Regions from separate parts of the Homo sapiens genome. Here region 1 is linked to region 2. Evidence: promoter capture Hi-C in 16 types of primary human blood cells and fetal thymus (Javierre and others, 2016). All regions are on one chromosome and are shown on one strand. The core of a region is centred on a gene start or on the middle of the fragment in contact, and the rest is flanking DNA. Distances in the headings are between cores, read along the strand shown.

Region 1 (6,220 bases), core at 2,937-5,436, 630 kb before region 2:
GGGAAAATCTCCAGGACATTGGTCTGGGCAAAAATTTCTTGAGCAATACCCCACAAACACAGGCAACCAAAGCAAACAGGAACAAATGGGATCACATCAATTAAAAAGCTTCTGCAAAGCAAAGGATTCAATCAACAAAGTGAAGAGACAACCCATAGATTGGGAGAAAATATTTGTAAACTACCCATCTGACAACAGATTAATCACCAGAATATATAATGAGCTCAAACAACTCAATAGAAAAAAGTCTAATAATTCAATTTAAAAATGGGTAAAACATTTGAATAGACATTTCTCAGAAGAAGACATACAAATGGCAAACAGGTATATGAAAAGGTGCTCAACATCAGTGATCATCAGAGAAATGTAAATCAAAACTACAATGAGATATTTAAAATGGCTTTTATCCAAGAGTTAGGCAATAATAAATGCTGGTGAGGATGTGGAGAAAAGAAAACACTTGTGCACTGTTGGTGGGAATGTAAATTAGTACAGCCACTATGGAGAACAATTTGGAGGTTCCTCAAAAAAATTGAAAATTGAGCTACTATATGATCCAGCAATCCCACTGCTGGGTATATACCAAAAAGAAAGGAAATCAGTATATCAAAGAGATATCTGCACTTCCATGTTTGTTGCAGCACTATTCACAATAGCTAAGATTTGGAAGCAACCTAAGTATTCATCAACAGATGAATGGATAAAGAAAATGTGTTACAGATACACAATGGAGTACTATTCAGCCATAAAAAGAATGAGATCCTGTCATTTGCAATAACATGGGTGGAACTGGAGATTATTATGTTCAGTGAAATAAGTCAGGTATAGAAAGACAAATATCACATGTTCTTATTTATTTGTGGGATCTAAAAATCGAAACCATTGAACTCATGGACATAGAGAGTAGAAGGATGGTTACCAGAGGCTGGGAAGGGCAGTGGGGTGTTGAGGAGGAGGTGGTCATGGTGAATGTGTACGAAAAAATAGTTAGAAATTGTCTGGGTGCAGTGGCTCTCTCCTGTAATCCCCAGCACTTTGGGAGGCCGACATGGGCAGATCACCTGAGGTCAGGATTTTGAGACCAGCCTGGCCAACATGGTGAAACCCTGTCTCTACTAAAAATACAAACAATTAGCTGGGCGTGGTGGCATGTGCCTGTAGTCCTAGCTACTCAGGAGGCTGAGGCAAGATAATTGCTTGAATCTGGGAGGCGGAGGTTGCAGTGAGCTGAGAAGCCACCACTGTACTCCAGCCTGGGCAACAGAGAGAGACTCCATCTCAAAAACAAAAAAAAGTTGGAAATAACAAATAAGACCTACTATTTGATAGCATGATAGGGTGACTAGAGTCAATAATAACTTAATTGTACACTTAAAAAATATCTAAAAGAGTGTAATTGCATTGTTTGTAACACAAAGGATAAATGCTGCAGGGATGGATACCCCATTCTCCATAATGTGATTATTTCACATTGCATGCCTGTATGAAAACATCTCAATGTATCCCATAAATATATACGCCTACTATGTACCTACAAAAATTAAAAATAAGGCCAGGTACGGTGGCTCACACCTATAAACCCAGCACTTTGGGAGGCCGAGGTGGGCGGATCATGAGGTCAGGAGTTCGAGACCAGCCTAGCCAATATGGTGAAACCCTGTCCCTACTAAAAATACAAAAATTAGCCGGGCATGGTGGTGCGTGCCTGTAGTCCCAGCTACTCAGGAGGCTGAGGCAGAAGAATAGCTTGAACCTGGAAGGCAGAGGATGCAGTGAGCCAAGATTGTGCCACTGCACTCCATCCTGGGTGACAAAGCGAGACTCCGTCTCAAATAAATAAATAAATAAATAAATAAATATATAAAAATTCAAAAAATAAAATAAAAGTTGAAATTATAACAAAAAGATTCCTAAATGTAACCAACTTTATCTGATGAATTAAATAAAGAAACAGACAAGTATTGTATATACAACACTGTATACTCAAGTCTATAGGTGATTTAAGGATTTTCAAGGTTAATTTTGACTGTATTTGAGTTTCACTCATGCAGTGAATTTGCAACCCCAAGAAAGACGGGACTTCAACATCTAGCACAGAGCCCTGGGACATAAAATCCAGATAACCTGTTTCGAATCCTAATTCTTGGAGTGTTCAAGGCCAGTTTTATTTTCCATCAAATGGGGAAACTAAGAATAATGATGGTTAATTTTATGTGACAACTTGGCTGGGCTACAGTGCCCAGATATTTGGTCAAACATTATTCTAGATGTTTCTGTGAAGGTATTTTTTTGGATGAGACCAACATTTAAAACATTGTACTTTAAATAGGGCACATTACTCTCTATAATGTGAGTGGTCCTCAACCAATCAGTTGAAGACCTTAGTTTTTAAAACAAAGACTGTCCTCCATAGAGCAAGAAAGAATTCTTCTCACAATCTGCTTTTGGACTCAAACTGTAACTCCTTCTGAATCTCCAGCCTGCCGGCCTACCCCTGATGGGGTTTTGGACTTGCCATGCCTCCACAATCTAATGAGCCAATTTCTTGAAATCTCTCTCTCTCTCTCTCTCCATGTACATATATGCATACACACACACATACACCATACACACATATCCTGTTGGTTCTGTTTCTCTGGAGAATACTAATTAATACACTGTTCAACAGGATTATGGTGAAGATTAAATAAGACAATGCATTTAATCTTCATCCTATCTGAAATATGAAATAGTGCTATATAAATAGTTGCTATTGTCTACTAAAGGTCTACTCTTGTCTTTATAGCCTTGATTCCAGAGGCTATGTTTCTTTTAGGCCAGATCTACTCCCCAGCTGACTATGAAACCAAGGCATTCATATACTTTCTAGAAATATGTCTTCCTTCACCTCTTCTCAATCCCCAAACATGTTATAGAAAGAAAAATGAGTTTAAATTCTGTAATCACTACCAGGTATTCAATACTATTATGGCCCAATATTAGCACCCTATTTTCCTGATAACTGACCTGCTTGAATACCTGCATTGAGCCACCTTCTGAATTAAGTTGGACCTCCAAGTTGTTTATGAGTTTATCCATATCTGGAAAAGAGAAAAGGAAAAGACAACTTTCAGAATAAAATCTAACCCACTATATGCATAAATATGCCATTAATGTTATGTGTGTTCTATGACCTTTATCTTTCAGTGCTTACCAGATACTGATAAGTCATTGAAACCTTCTGATTTATTTTACTCATCAAGATGGACCTAACTTTTCCCCAATAATATTAGCTGCTCCCCTCCACCAAACTGCATGCAGGTAATCTGTTTCTTCCTATTTCTCCAACATGCTCTGCCTTCAGAGGAACATCAGTATAGCTACAGTTTTCAGTATTCTACCTTCCTGGTCTAGTTCTTGCTTGAAGGAGTTCCAAGCTCCTATATATATATTTACCCGAGTGAACTTATTTACACATCAAGGCCAAATCTCTCTAGAGACGTATTTTATCTGTCTACGTCTCTTAAATCTGCAAGCCAGGTGGGGTAATAAAAACAGTTTTCTCTTTCTTCTTTAGTTTTTCCTCTTAAAAAAAGGAATTAGTGTCTTAATTCAGCTGCCTTAAACCATCAGTCATTCATACTAGAAGCACCTACTAGCTTTCTTCCTCAACCAGATTTTCTGGGAGTTAGATGTGCAGCACTCACATCCCATAATCTTTGGCAAGGCCTTTTTTTTCCTAAGCCACAACTTGTCCATCTATGATTAAAAGATTTCAGACTATCCTCTGCAGAACCCTAAGGCTTCCATGGAACTTGGGGGTGGGGTTTGTTAAATTAAGGTTAGCTTAAAGCTTCCTCCTTACATATTTCAAGTTCAGCCTAAAGGTTTCCCCATCCATAATGAACCATAACCTAACTGGATGTGTAGACAGTGTAATCTACTGTTGCGCCAATCACAGAGTTTCAGCCAATTACAGGCAGTCAACAACTCAAAGTGTTTGAATAAGGCAAATACTGAGATATAACCAATCCAGCTGTTTCTGTACCTCACTTCCATTTTCTGTCCATAAATATTATCTGACTACATGGCAGCCCCAGAGTTGCTCTGAATCTATTATTTCTTCTGGGGGCTGCCTGATTCATGAATCATTCTTTGCTCGATTAAACTGTTAAGTGTAATTTGTCTAAAGTTTCTCTTTTAACAGGTTAATGGAGGAACTGTAGTAAGTAATAAGAATAGTAGAAGCCAGAATTAAGAAAACTGACTTCCAATAGAATCTGAGCTCCTTGCAGGCAGATACTTTCATCTTTGTTTTTTTCACTAATGTATTCCAAGGCCCTAGAACATTGCCTGGTACATGGTAGGTGTTTAATCACATTTTCGAAGGTTTTTGATGACAGTGACAGAAAAGGAGAGTGAGGGAATGTGTTTTCTCAAGTACAGAAATTGGAAAAGGGTGGAAAAGAACGAAAGAAAATTAGAGAATTTATGCATGAAAGATGCCTGAGGTGTAATTAACTATGAAGTGAGAGGTGGTAGAGAGGGTAGCTAAGCTTTTTCTGATTTCTAAGACAGGAAAAGGAGGTGTGATGGTGGAAAAAGAATGTGAGGTCAGGTAACTCTCATACAGCCCACAGGGGGGCACCAAAACGCCAGGAGAGCTTTCTTTGTTGCTGCCAGAACCATGCGTAGGAGTGGAGAAGATTCGATTCTCCCTCTGCATTCACACAACACCTTCAACAGGCTTCATTATTTCTAGCAAGTACAACTTAAGACAGCCAACTCCAATCTGTTCTTCGATTCCTATGGATTAAGAGACAGCAGAGTTGAGGAAGCAGAGTGATTCTGAGAGGCTATATTAGCTTCTATGAACCTCAGTTTCTTCACCTGCCAAAAGAGGGGGTAACACGGTATTGCCTTAACAGAGTTAATGTGAACATTCCATGTTAATACATTCATATGCCATGTAATGACGTTTCAGTCAACGATGACCCACAGATACGACACTGTTCTTTTTTTTTTCATACTTTAAGTTCTAGGGTACACGTGCACAACGTGCAGGTTTGTTACATATGTATCCATGTGCCATGTTGGTGTGCTGCACCCATTAACTCGTCATTTACATTAAGTATATCTCCTAATGCTATCCCTCCGCTCTCCCCCCACCCCATGACAGGCCCCAGTGTGTGATGTTCCCCTTCCTGTGTCCAAGTGTTCTCATAGATACGACAATGATTCTATACAATTATAACAGAGCTAAAAAATTCCTATCACCTAGTGATATCATACCCGCTGTAATGTCACAGTGCAAAGCATTACTCATGTATTTGTGGTGATGCTGGTGTAAACAAATCGACTGTGCTGTCAGTCAATATAATTATATACAGTATGTAATACTTAACAATGATAACAAATGACTATGTTATTGTTTTCTGTATTTACTACACTATACATTCTATCATCATTTTAGAGTGTACTCCTTCTACTTACTAAAAAAAAGTTAATTATAAAACATTCTCAGGCAGGTCTTTCAGGAGGTATCCCAGAAGAAGGTATTGTTGTCATACCAGACGGCAGCTCCATGCATGTTATTACCCCTGAAGATCTTCCAGTGGGACAAGATATAAGGTAGAAGACAGTGATATTGATGATCCTGACCCTCATAGGCCTAGGCTGATGTGTCTTTGTGTCTTAGTTTTTAACAAAAACTTGTAAAAAGCAAAAAAAAAATAATTAACAATAGAAAAAAGCTTATAAAATAAGAATACAAAGAAATAAAATATTTTTGTACAGCTGTACAGGATTTGTGTTTTAAGCTAAAAAAGTTATAGTAAGCTAAGGTTAATTTATAAGAAAAAATTGTTTATAAATTTAGTGTAGCCTAGTGTACACTGTTTAAAAAGTCTAAAGTAAGGTACAGTAATGTCCTAGGCCTTAACATTCACTCGCTACTCACTAAGTGACTTACTCAGAGCAACTTCTAGTTCTGCAAGTTTCCTTCATGTTAAGTGGTGTTCAGGTACACCATTTTAAAATCTTTTATGCCATATTTTAACTGTGCCTTTTCTATGTTTAGATACACAAATATACACCATTATGCTACAACTGCCTACAGTGTCCAGTACAGTAACATGCTATAGAAGTTTGTAGCCTAGGAGCAATAAGCTATACCATATAGCCTAGGTTGTAGTAGATTATACCATCTAGGTTTATGTTAGTACATTCTATGATATTCACA
Region 2 (6,259 bases), core at 2,970-5,469:
GGGTTGAAAATTCTTTTCTTCAAGAATGTTGAATATTGGCCCCCACTCTCTTCTGGCTTATAGTGTTTCTGCCGATGGTTCTGCTGTTAGTCTAATGGGCTTTCCTTTGTCAGTAGCCCGACCTTTCTCTATGGCTGCCCTTAACATTTTTTCCTTCATTTCAACCTTGGTGAATCTGGCCATTATGTGTCTTGGGGTTCCTCTTCTCCTGGCGTATCTTTGTGGTGTTCTCTGTATTTCCTGAATTTGAATGTTGGCTTGCCTTGCTAAGTTGGGGAAGTTCTCCTGGATAATATCCTGAAGAGTGTTTTCCAACTTTGTTCCATTCTCCCCATCACTTTCAGGTACACCAATCAAACGTAGATTTGGTCTTCACATAAAGACAATTCTTTATACAACAGTGTTAAAAATGGGACTTCTTTTCACATTGTTGTAAATACGAAGCTCACCTGTTGTTTACAATTTTTTAAATTTTGTGTTTTCCAAATGTGCATATTGTACACTTTGGGGGATATGCTTAGTAATGCTATGTGTGATTTTTCTGGAGTTTGATAAGTTTGCTTGCAGTACATTTTCTTTAAAAGAATGGGCAGCTACATGCATACTTCAAAAATATTTTCCTATAAAAAGAAGTTATATAGGTTGTGTTTGCTATCTTAATTTTAGTTGTATTCTTTGATGTTAACATATTTTGTATAATTGTATTTTATAGCTGTATTGAATCGTGTAGTATCAAATATTAGATGTGATTTAATAGTGTTAAATTTAAACCCATTTTTAGTCATTTTTCCAAAACATACTGCCAGATGCAGATGTTCAGTGTAATTTCTTTGCTTGTTCATTTACAGAAAAAGGTGCTCAGTTGTAGAAAGTATTGTACCTTTTAACACCTGATGCATACATCACATGTAACAGGAAAAGCAACAATAAAGTAGCAATCATTAAGAAAAAATACGGCAGAACAAGCTCTATAAGCACAGTCTTATTTTCTTTTGTTATCCAGAATTCTTATGATTCTTAAGCCTCCTAGAAATTGGAAGCTGAATGAAGCAACTCAAGTTTCCTTTATTTTGCACTCGATTACAGCAATTTATAATTTTTTTAAAAAGTTCCTCTGAAGGTATATCTGGATCATGACATTACTGAAGAAGCACCATATCCAGCCACTGCTTTTTTTCATGCAACCAGAGAGCAGAAATAAGGATCAGAAAATACTGAATAGAGTTCAAAGCTCAGAGGTACCAGGTTGCAGCAGAAAACTCCAGGTCTAGTTCTAAAAATGAAAGCTTGCCTTGTTTGAGAAGTTTACAGACTAGGCATATTAGAAGTGTAGTTTGTGATAAAAATAGTCTCATTAATTTCACATCCAGCTCTTTTACTAGTAAGTGTTAATCTGGGAGAAAAATGAGAAGCAACTGGTGACTACTTATATGCAGAATATTTTATTAATTCCAAGGTATTCTGTTAACTTGGTCTTTGCCTTATGATACAGAAGTAGCATTTACAATTTTTTTCAAAAAATACTGTTTGCATATGTTGTTTTGTGATTTAACCTAAATATACAATTTTGTATGAGGTATAATACATCATTATAAAAATGTGAACTTTGAAAATAGTTACAATTATATTGAATTAATTGCTTTTGTAGCTTACAGGCGTTTTTGTACCCCCATTATGAAGGTTTTGCAACTAAATTTATACCTAAAAATCTATTTTCTCCTGGATATATGTTAATATCATTGAAGCAAAAAGCTATGCTTAAATCTGATAAACAAAAGTTTATTTGCATAGAAAAGATGTTAAAGATAATTTTGAAATTAGAAAAACAAATGCTGTAGTGTTTGTTGTTGCTGCTGGCTTGTTTCTTTTTTTGTTTTTTAGCAAAACTCCACTGATGTCTCTTGGCTCCTAAAAACCCACAAGATGAAGTCCAAACACCTAATAGTTTTCTCTTAGTCACTCACGGTCCTCATGTAGTTAAGTCACACTGAACTTCATGCCATTCCCCCAAACACTCCATCCACTTTGTTCACATTGTTGTCTCTGTAATGCCTCTACTCCAGTTTGCCATTTATTCTTCAAAACTAGCTCAAAATGTATTTTTTCCAATGCCCTTTCATGTCTTTCCCAGGAAGAATGTCTCCCCATTTCCATGTCAATTTCTCACATCTGTTTCATCATATTTACATTATAAATATGTCTCCCACTAGTATCCCTCAGCTTTTTATCCTCAGCATCTAAGATGGACCTTGACACATTAGCATATCCTCAATAAAATCTTGAGAACTAAAAATAATAGAAAATAAAGCTTTATCATCAAAAGGCTTGGGGTTAATACAGGAATATTTCACAGGACGTTAAACATACAAACTAAAAGTAGCTGTTTAGAATTATTTGTCAATATTGGAATTGGATGACAAAGAAACAAGGCTTAGAAGTCCAGGGCCAGAAATAGAAAAGTGAGGTTCTGAAGGATAAAATGGGTTACTTAAAAAGGAGATGTAGCTGATGAATGGTAGAAGGGGAAACTTGATTCTTCATCACAAGTCAAATTCTCTTCACATGGCACTCGAGGTTCTCCATGGCTCGGCTCCATCCTGCCTTTTATGCTTTATATTCCACTGTTCACTTTCATGTGTGAAAATACTCTCTATAAACAAAATTCCTTTCTTTCACAAAACACACCCTTCTTTCCTTAGTTTCTATGCCATTGTTTCTAGGATTTCTTTTCCTTTGCTCAAAATTTGGAACAACAGCCACTCTCCTCGTGCGACTTTCCATGACTCTCCACCTGGATTTAAGTTCTGTCTCCCCTGTACCCACCTCTAACTTTACTTAACACCATTATTGTAACAGTAGCTAAAGACAGACTTGGCACCAACCAGGCTGGGTAAGTTTAGAGATTAATGAATGTCAGGGGATAAGTAGGCACAGTAAGGAAGGCAGTGTTCCAAAAGGGAGCAATGGCATTTCAAAGATCAAAGAGAGAGGTCAACAACTCTGGCTGACTCATGCACTCTTGGATTCTCTCCCTTTGAGCAAAGGCTAAGACACGAGTCTCCTCCCAAAAGCGGCGGTGCCCCTCCTTAGTGAGCTTCCAAAGGCAAGAGCGAGGTCTTGCATTATCTTCATCCTTAAGGCTGTCTGGCACCTTCTCAAAGCTGTCCAGGAAGCAGAGGTTGTAATGAATGGTGCTCTTCCAGCCATCCGGAGCTGTCCAGAAAAAGGGGAAATGCTGTCGGGTGAAATTGTAGATCTCCTGCACACTGAGGCCACAGTGGGGGTTGTTTCTTAATGCTAGGGCAATAAGGTGGCTACAATTGAGAGGGGGCCTTTGCCAGGACTTCTCTTGGTTGTTGATTTGCCATAGTTTCTGGCTCTGGTAACATTTCATTTCAGGGGACTGGAGGGAGTTGTCGTCTGGTTCCTCAGCCTCCTCTTCTGTGAGCTCAAAGTCACTGGGGGAATGGATACCCTGCTTCTGTAAAGGAGACTGCTCACTGGAGGAAGATGGCAGAGACTCTACCACTTTGTCCTCTGAGCAGTTAGACCCTTCGTCTTTTTGTGGGGGCTGAGGGAAAGGAGAAATGTTTGTCAGATCCTCTTTTCCACTGGGCTTTGGGGCCTCCTGGCTGCCAAGGGGGCACAGGATATTGGGGTCCACCCACATCCACAGATTGGGTTCACAGGGAGGACCATCTCCATCAGGACTGGGTCTCCTCTTCTGAGGCATTTCTGGGGGCTTCATTACTCCGACTCTGTATTTGGCAAGGATTTGCTCAGCTAAAGAGCACTGGTCTGTGGTACAAGGCAGAAATAACTCATTCCTCATGTCCCAGTCCAGCAGCCCTGGGACCTGGCCATGGAGACTATACCAAAATTCACAGTCTTTTAGTTTTAAGTCCATCTTTACTGGAGAGATAGGTGGAGAGAGACTTCTGAAAGAACAGATATCTAGCAGGCACTTAAAGCTGTCCTTTGGGCATCATTTTTTTATGCAGTGTATCTCATCTAGGGAGCTTATCAGTAGGCCTGCTAGAAGCACTGAAGAAAGAGGCACCAATGTCTCACTGATTAGTGGTCAGACCTGGAGAAACCTCAGCTTTCTGGAACAAGGCTCAAAACATGGAAGTAATAAAAAAGAGCTTTTGAGCAGAAAAACATTTTTAGGTGGAATTCTTGAGCTTTGATTGGAAGCAGAAAGTCACTTCAAGAGGAATTATAAACTGAATTATGTGCAAACTATGGTGACTTGCATAATAGGTGATCATCTGGCACATATTTAAACCCTTGATGAGTTCATTTAAGGAAGGGACAAACATATGTATAGATCACATTATATTTCTGAGTCTTCCTTAATGGTTTTAAAAATCATTTCATTCATCGAGTGCCTTTGGATTTTGGTTAAGTGCTTTCACATAGATGATCTCAACTGATTTTCATCACAGCCCTGCAAGATAACATGGTATTATTATCCTCATGTCACAGACATGGCAACTGAGATATACAGACATGAGTAAGTAGGAGAGCTAGATCCACAGCCCAGATCTTTTATTTTCACTATACGCATTGCCTCTTGATCATACTCAACATACGATATACAACAGGCAGTAATATGTGCAACCTGAGTTTTATAGTAAGATGGTAACTATCAGAACATGGCCTCTATTATTCTCATACTGATACTAGAATCTAACCTTGCTGCCGTTTTCAATCCTTTTCTGGGAAACAGCTGGCTTTCCTCTCTCCAGGTCACCTTCTTAGGAAATGAGTTCTGAACTATACTCTGAACAGTAGGACCAAAATTTAGCCACAGTATGCAAGGTCCTGAAAGCCCCAGAGGTTCTATTTCCAGTAAGTTCACACCCAGGACATTTGTAAGAAAAATAAAATGGCAAGGTTTCCTTTAATTCAGTTTGCACAAAATCCATGTGTAAAGTATGCGATATCATTAAAATCACTACATAGGACTATGTTGCAAACATATCCAGCAAATGTCAATGGGAGCTATTGGAGAGGCACTTTAATCTCCATATTGTTTCCATACTCTGGTTCTCTTCTACTCTAATCTTTCATACAAGTGGCCTGAGTTGTCTTTCTACAGCATAAATACAAAAAACAACACAACAGTTGTACCAACTGTTAATTATTACAGAATGCTGTAAGCACTCTAACTCAAATCTTCAAAATAATCCTATGAAGTAGGTACTCTTATTATTCTTCCTTTACAGAGTAAAAAACATAAGGCACAAAAAAGCCTAAGTCACAGAGCTAGTAAAGGCCAGAGCTGACTTTCAAACATAGGCAACCTGACTGCAGAACACATGCTTTTACTAACTATACCAATCTTCTCTATTTTGGTGTTATAACATAAAATCTTATAACTTAATGCAACATAAAAGTCCCTCCAAAATCTCACCCCTGCTTACCTTTCCAGGGTAACTTAACACCCTAGCTTTCTTGCTTCATACTTCACGTCCAAAAAGTACTGAAATGCTGGGATCTTCACCACACACCCGTTTTTTTCTCATGTCCCTTTGCTCAAAAACATTCGCTTAAAATGGCTTACTACCCATTGCCTTGACTTAGCTAACCTCTACTCATCTTTTAAGACAACAGAAAGCCTTCTCTAATAAAAACGCTGCTTCCATCTCCCCATAGGGAATTAATGGATCTCCTTCCAGTGGGGCACTGATCTTGGAAAAGCAGGAGATTAACTTGAAATATTTAGCTTATTATGCCAACCACGGAGAGCCTGGAAGCATTTTAGTGCTCAGCAGTCTTTTATTCCTTAAATGGGGGCTCTAGTGTTACAGAATTTCTCCTCCATCTTCACCTGGGAGAGTGCTCCAATCCTTAGATATTGGCTAGTAAAACCAAGTTATCACTGTGTATTGTTTCTTTGGGCCTCATTTAGAAACATTCAATATTTACGTATTGAGCATCCACCATGTTCCAAGAAGTATGTAATAGATCTGGCAGATGAGTAAGACACAACCCAAGAGGATATCACAGAGTAATGCGGAAAGACAGAGAAGTAAACAAAAGGTTAAAATACAGTGTGATGAGTATTAGATACTTCAATAGAAGAACATAGAGAGGAACAACTTAACCCAGATAATAGGAATCAAAAGGGATCCCATGGAAGATATTATTTAAGCTTAAAAGACATGTTACCCAGAAGCAGAGATATGGAGAACAGGCTAGCACATGCCAACCAGGTACACATTCAACACAGTATATGTACTATACAAAGCAA

The links. The method cuts DNA at HindIII sites, captures the fragments that hold promoters and counts their contacts. A CHiCAGO score of 5 or more calls a contact.
Region 1: a fragment that was not itself captured here is called in contact with the fragment with the promoter of FOXR2 in region 2 in 4 of 17 cell types (total B cells, megakaryocytes, naive B cells and 1 more); the score reaches 8.1 in total B cells.

Annotation. Positions count from the first base shown.
Region 1 is chrX:56,247,091-56,253,310 of GRCh38, reverse strand. It overlaps KLF8 (KLF transcription factor 8), which reads right to left. Exons shown (of 6, transcript NM_007250.5): 2 at 3,007-3,080. Among named protein-coding and RNA genes, the nearest start is that of KLF8, 18 kb to the right of the region's middle. The HindIII fragment of the contact is 703 bases long and covers 3,835-4,537 here.
Region 2 is chrX:55,621,360-55,627,618 of GRCh38, reverse strand. It overlaps FOXR2 (forkhead box R2), which reads right to left and starts at 4,219. Exons shown (of 1, transcript NM_198451.4): 1 at 1,427-4,219. The coding sequence starts at 3,907. The coding sequence ends at 2,972. The HindIII fragment of the contact is 3,852 bases long and covers 2,311-6,162 here.